Regions from separate parts of the Homo sapiens genome. Here all the other regions are linked to region 2. Evidence: promoter capture Hi-C in 16 types of primary human blood cells and fetal thymus (Javierre and others, 2016). All regions are on one chromosome and are shown on one strand. Each heading gives the region's core, a stretch centred on a gene start or on the middle of the fragment in contact. The rest is flanking DNA. Distances are from core to core; before and after follow the strand shown.

Evidence for each region. The method cuts DNA at HindIII sites, captures the fragments that hold promoters and counts their contacts. A CHiCAGO score of 5 or more calls a contact.
Region 1: a contact is called between a fragment that was not itself captured here and the fragment with the promoter of NSMAF in region 2, in 1 of 17 cell types (naive B cells). The highest score is 5.5, in naive B cells.
Region 3: a fragment that was not itself captured here is called in contact with the fragment with the promoter of NSMAF in region 2 in 1 of 17 cell types (monocytes); the score reaches 5.4 in monocytes.

The regions. Positions count from the first base shown.
Region 1 is chr8:59,930,897-59,933,596 of GRCh38, reverse strand. No RefSeq gene overlaps it. Among named protein-coding and RNA genes, the nearest start is that of CA8, 350 kb to the left of the region's middle. The HindIII fragment of the contact is 1,876 bases long and covers 404-2,279 here.
Region 2 is chr8:58,658,423-58,661,366 of GRCh38, reverse strand. It overlaps NSMAF (neutral sphingomyelinase activation associated factor), which reads left to right and starts at 1,514. Exons shown (of 31, transcript NM_003580.4): 1 at 1,514-1,794. The coding sequence starts at 1,736. RefSeq lists silencers at 1,437-1,776, 1,787-2,236 and enhancers at 1,948-2,510, 2,687-2,944, 2,511-2,944. The HindIII fragment of the contact is 3,520 bases long and covers 1-2,461 here.
Region 3 is chr8:57,427,011-57,429,836 of GRCh38, reverse strand. No RefSeq gene overlaps it. Among named protein-coding and RNA genes, the nearest start is that of LINC00588, 150 kb to the right of the region's middle. The HindIII fragment of the contact is 4,467 bases long and covers 1-2,826 here.

The DNA of each region.
Region 1 (2,700 bases), core at 92-2,591, 1.3 Mb before region 2:
AGAGTCACAGACATTTTCGGATCATGAGACAAACTCTGGTTGGAAGAATTAGCATAAAGAGTGACATGAGAATTCCCGGAAGAAATACCTACATCCAATTGGCTAACAAGAATGTAACTATACTCAAAAGTGACTGCAAACTGCAAAAATATGTCCTACTAAAAGCAAACTAAATGTATTCCCAACTAACCTCCCCACAGGAGAATTGCAAAATTGCCCAGAGCTACTGCAACACCACCATACAGAGGGGCAGCATTATGGAAAGAAAGTCAGTGATGAGAAACAGTGGTCTGAACCAACTGCAGCCAAAATATCTTACTTATATAAATGTTCCAAAGGCATATGATACCCGATGGCCTCGTGGGGAGGGAGGGCACCTGTGCAAATGAAGCGAGCAGAAGCTTGATGGTGAGTCTGCCTCTGGTGCAATGCTTAGAACCGCACTGGATACAGAGTACCATCCCAAGAAAAATTAGGTAAATGAAATGTTCATTGGCCATATTGGTAGGCTTTTCAGAAAACATACAGGATACTCATTTAAGTAACAGTTTTGTATAAACAGTGAATGATTTTTAGGATTAGCTATTAGGTTTTTGAGCAGTCTGCTTAACAACCGGTAAGATAAAACTTTACATGTAGCTTCTATATTTGATTTTTGTTTTTAATTTTAAATAAATTTTATTGCACACATTTAAATATTTATACCAACTGGAATTTATTTTGATAATTAATAGATGGTGTGGCTTTCACTTACTGTTTATGATTATTTCTTCTTAATGGTTTCTTACTATGCTGCATGCTTTTTGGGAACAGGCATATCTCACCTGATGTCAGAGGGAGACCAAGGGAGGGGTGGTGAACGCAGCCTGCACTGGGTGCTGGGTAAACTGTCCGTAGGGAATTTATAAACAATAATAACAGTGACTGAAAGCCGGCCAGCTTTTTATTATCATCATGCACTGGCAATTCTAAACAATGTCAGTAATAACATACTTTTCCTTGCTGGGGCAAATCTCTACCACTGCCCCGCCCCGTTGGTATGCTACTGTTTTGAATTCCTGTCTCCCAGCTCAGCGCTCTTGTTATTGAGTACAGAGTAATTTTTCTGTAAATGTTTGTGAACTGCATTGAAGTCTCACTGAGGGCCTGATCTATAGCAGCAACTTTATTAGATTTCTTTTGTTTTTGTATCCAGTTTCTCGAGAAGTTCCCATTTTTCTTCCAGCTCCTTCACTAAATTTCACCAATACAAGCCAATTTCCAGATCCATATTTTACACCCTGTCTCCTACTTCAGTACTGCTGTCTTCTCCAACAATATAACACACAGCACTTCAAAACTTCATGCTCATGATTTTCCTCCACATTTATACCAAACCTCTGCTCTGGGGGAAAATATTTTCTTTTGTTACTATTACGTGGCCTATTTTTTGGCTAGGTCTTATCTTAGTGCCACCTATCATGCATAGCAGCTGAGTACTTGACCTTTAAAATATGGAGTAAAATAAGGCCAAATTTTCATTATGTGCTGGACATTTTTCAAAGCACTTTTGCCAGCAAACAAAAGATGAGCACTTAACAGCTACTCCCTATGAGTAGGTGTTTTTCTAATCTTCCCTTCAGAGACAAGGCACTAGGAAGTGAAGTGACACTCGTCCAGCCACCCGGTAGTGAAGTGGTAGAGTCAGGCTTTGAACCGCAAGTCATTTCAGAGTCTGCGTCTGTAACCGATCTGAGCCTGATGTTTCATGTGTATTATCTGATCTCATTCTCAAAAGACTCCATGCACAAAATTATATTATTCTCATTTACAGATGAAGACACTGTGGTTGGAAAGACAACGTAACGTGTCTAAATTCATGCAGTTGGTAAGGGGTGAGGTCAGAATATGAACCCAGATCCATCTAACATGAAGCCATGCCCTTCTTGGGCATTGTTTTCCACTACCAGCTTCTGTACTGTGCCAGGATACACCATCTACAGAGGGTCCTGGGAGGCTCATGGATCACGTGAGAAGTTGCCACCACAGGTGGAAAACCACTGAAAGGAGGATAGGTGGCTCAAAGACAAAGTTCCCCCACTGTCTAATTGTAACTCTGGGCTGTCAGGGGCTTCAGGGCACCATGGTAGCTGTTGTCCAAGGTGCCTGCATTTGTCACCTGCCTCAGACACCCACAACTGCCATGGGGGCACAGCCAGTGCAATGTGGAGGTGCAAGCACCCTGGGTGGCTTAGAGATTGATGTGTAGAGAGTATCAGCCCCCCTTTTATTTTGAAGCTTTTTGGTGCAAAATAAAAACTCATAAACTAAGTTTTCTTTTCTCTTAGAAGGTTATTTGCCCTTATTACACTTTTGGTTAATGTTATGGACTTGTCCATAAATGTTTTCTCCCTGAGTTTCCTCTTCAGTGGAAAGAGAGCATGTTAATAGAAACATTTTTAAAGGGTTAAAAAAAACCCCTTTTTGTACTTAAATTTTCTGATCACATTACTTTGGTCTCTGGTTGAGATATGCAATTTTACACACTCGCCTCTTCCTATATTGTTTGTGTCCCACAGTCTCCTGGTTAAAATGGGTGAAATTTCCATTTTAATTGCTGTGAATCATTAGTTTGAGACTTACTTCATTAAACAAAAAATATGGAATTAAAAACATTCTGGAATAAAAATGGTTAATAAACAGAAAGAAATGCAACATGGA
Region 2 (2,944 bases), core at 265-2,764:
CCTCCAGCTTCAACTTCCAAAAGCATTGGGATTACCGGCATGAGCCATCACTCCAGCCCCTTAGGGCTTATATACCATAGGGGAGGGGTGGTTCAGAAGGGATGTGTAGGACAATTGAAGTATAATAACATCAAGTTGTTTGAATTAAGGACAGAACATACTGGGTAGATACCTGCTCTTACACAAGGAACAATAGATAAAGTAGAAATCTTAGAGGCCTTCCCAGAACTGGGGTCAATCAGAAGTCAACACGGAGGATTAGCTTCCAAGATGGAGCTGCTTTCGCCTCCACATCCAGCAATTCCACTCTTAGATTCCAATTCCACTCAACAGAAATGGAAACATAGGTCCATAAAAAAACTGTACATGACTGTGTACAGCAGCCTTATTCACAATAGCCAAAATGTGGAAACAACTGAAATGTCCATCAACTGATGAATGGATAAACAAAATGCAACAGAATATGCTCCAGCAATCTAAAGGAACGAAGTACTGTACAGATACATGCTACAACATAGATGAACCTTGAAAGCATTACGCTAAATGAAAGAAGCCAGACACAAAAGGCCACATATTGTATGGCTCCATTTATATGAAATATCCAGAATAGGCAAACCCATAGAGACAGGAAATTGATTATTGTTTGCTAGGGCTGGGGTTTGGAGGGTAGAGTTAGGAAGAGTGACAGCTAGAGGGTATGGGTTTCTTTTACATGTGATGAAAATGTTCTCAAATTGTGGTGATTGTTGAACATATCTGGAAATATACTAAAAATCGCTGAATGGTATACTTTAAATGGTTGACTTGTTTGGTATGTGAGTTATATCCCAATAAAGCTGTTATATAAAAAAAAATCATGCGAGCAATTATCTCAACAATCAAGAGACTGTGTTAAAGATTCTTTGCTTGGCCAAACTTCAGTTAGGCTTCTGAATCTTCTCCCAGGTCCTTGTGTGCACTTCCTTGTAAATGCAGTGTTAGGAAGTAACACTGCCACGGCAGTTTAGCAAGAATCCCCCACCCTCCATATGTGATCAAAATTCTTTACTCCTACCCTTAGTATCTGACCCCCTGGCCTGCCTTCACTGGGACTCCTGTTAGGTTGGTTCAGCCAGAATTTCCCCCAGAATTGATGTTTCCTCTTAGCAGTTTTCCGAACACCTGCTCCTTGCTCCTTGGCTATAAATCTCCACTTATTCCTGGTGTATTTGGAATAGTTACGACTGAGTTGCCTTCACCCCTTTAACTTCCGTCTTTTTTTTTTTTTCACAATGGAGGACACAAAACGTTGTTATTTCAAGTCTTTGTGGCCAACAGATTGGTGGTTTATGGGCCAGCATCCCTTTTTATGCGTAAAATATTTAAAACGCAGCCTGCAATGGTTGGTAAAGTGGTGAAACGTTTAGTGTGTGAGGTCGGATCCTGGTCTGGCCGCTGGCCCTGGCGATCCTCTGAGGCGGCCTGAGTTTGGGGCGCCTCGTGTCACCGCGCGCCCCTCCTCCGGGCCTGAGTCACGGTGCCGCCGGAGTCCCCACGCGAGGATGCTGCGGTGAGCGCGGCCGGGACGCCGCGTCGGGCTCTCGGCCGCCCAGCGGCGCCGCAGGGGAAGCCAGGCCGGCAGCCGCGCGCTCCCCAGCCGGCCACCAATCCCGCCCTCCCCGGCTCCTCCGGACCTCCTCGGCAGGCGGCGGCGGGGCCTGCCTGTGCGCTCTGCGCCCGCCCGCGCCTACCCTCCATGGCGTTTATCCGGAAGAAGCAGCAGGAGCAGCAGCTGCAGCTCTACTCCAAGGAGAGGTGCGCGCCCAGCTGAAGAAGGGCCCAGCCGGGGGCCTAGTCGGGGCCGGTCGTGGGGACGCCGGCCGGAGATCTGAGGGACGGGAGGCGGCGTGGGGGCCGGGCACGGAGGCAGGGGCCGGACGCGTGTCCAGGGCCTGGGCTGGGGGCTGTGGCGGAAACCTGAGGTCGGGGTGAGAGGCCGGGGGCCTGGTCTGGGCCGGAGCCTGCCGGGGACAGGAACTGGATGACGGGCCAGGCCAGATTCCACCGCGGAGCCGAGGCATGCCGAGCTATCCGGCAGTGCAGGTCCCGGCGGCCGCGGGCAGCTCACCCGGAAGGCCGCGCGGGGTCCGGGCGTGGATCCCGGCACGCGAGCCCGGGCGTTCGCAGGGGAGGGTGAGTACGCTGCCCGGCGGGCACCCCCTTTCTAATCCTTCCCCTTAATCGGGTCCAGGCACTCGGCGCCGGCGCCGCAGAGTTGGTCGCCGGGCGGCACCGAGCAGGCCGGCGACCACCCACTCGCATTGCCGCGCCTTTTTCCTGCCGACTCCTTTAGACACAGGACTAGCTCCATGCCCTGGAAGGCTGGGAGGGGGGCCGCCGGAAAGGCCTGATTCTGAGGAAAGCCAAGGTCCTGCCTCCCAAACACTTGCTCCCCGCGCAGTGGACCTTGTGTTGGAAAGCTTTGCAGTCGAAATCGCGGTGCGGCAGCGGAGCACTCATTCTCACCAGCATCCCAGTAAGGATTTGGGATCCCTTGAGCTAAAATGGTCTCACAGCAGTTCCCTTTCAGATATGCTGGACCTGTCCCCAAGGGAAGTCTCATAAGAAAGCTCACTTCGGCTCTATGTATAGTTCCCAGGGCATTTTTGGTGACAGAAACAACTTGCTCGGTCTGCAGCTCAGATGCCAAAAGGAAAGGGGGGCTGAATCATTTTACAGACACACTGTTTTGATTGTGAGAGCCACAGATCTTCCAGTGCTGCTAGCCTGTCACGTTGTCTCATCAGTGAATACCAGCAAAGCAGGTTACACGTGGGAATACAAGTGCAGACTTCAAGATTTGTCTACACTTGTTTTATAAGGGTTGACTCGACCCCTTTGATCCAGACATTCATCTTTCTCTAATCTGTAATGTTGGTCTAACCAGTGTGTCCACAGTACGAAA
Region 3 (2,826 bases), core at 33-2,532, 1.2 Mb after region 2:
ACAAAAAACAACACTAAAAACTGGGTAAAGGACATGAACAGGTACTTTTCAAATGAAAACATGCATGCAGCTAACAAGCGTATGAAAAAACCTCAATATCACTGATAATTAGAGAAATGCCATCCAAAACCACAATGAAATACCTTCTCACACAAGTCAAAACGGCTATTATCAAAAAGTGAAAAAATAACAGGCTGGCAAGGTTGCAGAGAAAAGGAAACATTTATACACTGTTGGTGGGAGTGTAAATTAGTTCAGTCATTGTGGAAAGCAGTGTGGCCATTCCTCAAAGAGCTAAAAACAGAATTACCATTTGAACCAGCAATTCTATTACTGAGTATATACCCAGAGGAATATAGATCATTCTATCATAAAGACACATGCCACGGAAATGTTCATTGCAGTGCTATTCACAATAGCAAAAACATACATAAGCAACCTAAATGCTGTGGATGATAGACTGGATTAAAAAAATGTGGTACATATACATCATGGAATACTATGCAGCCATGAAAAAGAATGAGATTATGTCTTTTGTGGAAACATAGATGGATCTGGAGGCTATTATCTTTAGCAAATGCGGGAATAGAAAACCAAATACCAAATACCACATGTTCTCACTCATAAGTGGGAGCTAAATGATGACAACTCATGTACCCAAAGAAGGTAACAATAGACACTGGGGTCTACTTGAGGGTGAAGGGTGGGAAAAGGGAGAGAAGCAGAAAAAATAACTACTGAGTACCGGGCTTAACACCTGGGTGATGAAATAATCTGTACAAAAAACCCCGTGACACAAGTTTACCTATGTACCAAGCCTCCACATCTACCCCCAAACCTAAAATAAAAGTTAAAAATAAAACGTGCTCCAGTCAGTGGAAATCTTGTAGGTCTTGCTTCCAAAAGTGGCTGCTGACCAGGGCTGAGCTCTTGCCTTATCTGTGCACATCAGGGCCTATTTATAAAGAGCCTCAGAGTCAGCTGTTGGATGTTATCTCTGACTAGGTTATATAAATAGCTACACAGATGCACTGACAGAATTTAAAAAAAAAAATCCTTCATACCACTTCATTTGTTAATTGGAAATATTTAAAGTATACCACAATTTTTATAATCTTGTTTCCTAATTATAATTATTTTGTTTGGCCGGGCGCAGTGGCTCATGCCTGTAATCCCAGCACTTTGGGAGGCCGAGGCAGGCAGATCACGAGGTCAGGAGATCCGAGACCATCCTGGCTAACACAGTGAAACCCCGTCTCTACTAAAAAAAAAATACAAAAAATTAGCCGGGGGTGGCGGGCGCCTGTAGTCCCAGCTACTGGGGAGGCTGAGGCAGGAGAATGGTGTGAACCCGGGAGGCGGAGCTTGCAGTGAGCTGAGATCACGCCACTGCACTCCAGCCTGGGCAACAGAGCGAGACTCTGCCTCAAAAATAAAATAAAATAAATAAAATAAAATAAAATATTATTTTGTTTATTTATTTGTAGTATATCAGAAGCCTCAGGCTGGGCAAGGTGGCTCATGCCTGTAATCTCAGCACTTCGGGAGGCCGAGGAAGGCAGATTACCTGAGGCTGGAAGTTCCAAACTAGCCTGACCAACATGGAGAAGGCCCATCTCTACTAAAAATACAAAAAAATTAGCTGGGCGTGGTGGCAAGTGCCTGTTATCCCAGCTACTGGGGAGGCTGAGACAGGAGAATCGCTTGAACCCAGGAGGCGGAGGTTGCAGTGAGCCGAGATCGCGCCATTGCACTCTAGCCTGGGCAGCAAGAGGGAAACTCCGTCTCAAAAAAAAAAAAAAAAGAAAAGAAAAAAGAAAAAGCCTCAAAAAATGGAAGTGATGCAAGGATTCTGTTTCTCTCTGGATAGTCCCCTATCTGTATGTCTGTTTTCTGCTTTTGAGTTTAACTTATTTTTGGTTAAATGAGGTCATATGATGGTCAGTAGAGGTTGTTGAATAAAATAATGCGTTTTTTTGAGACAGAGGTCTCACTCTGTTGTCCAGGCTGGAGTGCAGTGGCCCAATCTCAGCTCACTGCAACCTCCACCTTCCAGATTCAAACGATCCTCCTATCTCAGCCTCCTGAGTAGCTGGGACTCCAGACGCACACCACCACGTCTGGCTAATTTTTTTTTTTTTTTTTTTTGGTAGAGAGGAGGTTTTGCCATGTTGCCCAGGTTGGTCTTGAATGCCTTGGCTCAAGTGATCTGCCTGTCTTTTGACCTCCCAAAGTTCTGGGATTGCAGGTGTGAGCCACTGCTCCCGGCCAAAATAAAATCTTTTGCTGTTAATTTTTCAACCAACAGATCACCAATTTTATTTTATTTTATTTTTTGTCTATTACTTTGGATTCAGGGGGTCCATATACAGGTGTGTTACAGAGGTAGATTGTGTGATGCTGGGGTTGGGAGTATGATTGAACCTGTCACCCAGTGGGTGAGCATAGAACCCAGCAGGGTTTTTCAACCCTCTCACCTTCCCACTGTAATATTCCCCACTGTCTATTGTTTCCATGTTTGTGTCCGTGTGTACCCAATGTTCAGCTCCTACGTCTACAGGAGAACATAAGGTATTTGATTTTCTGCCTCTGCATTAGTTTACTTTGGATAATGGCCTCCAGCTGTATCTGTGTTGCTGCAAAGGATATGATTTTGTTCTTTTTATATGACTGCTTAGTATTCCACGGTGTATATGTACCACGTTTTCCTTATGTAGTCCACTGCTGATGGGCACCAGGGTTGATTTCACATCTTTTCTATTGCATATCACAAATTTTTGATGCCCTGGAAAAATCACACTAACAATAAGGAGAACAGAACTACTG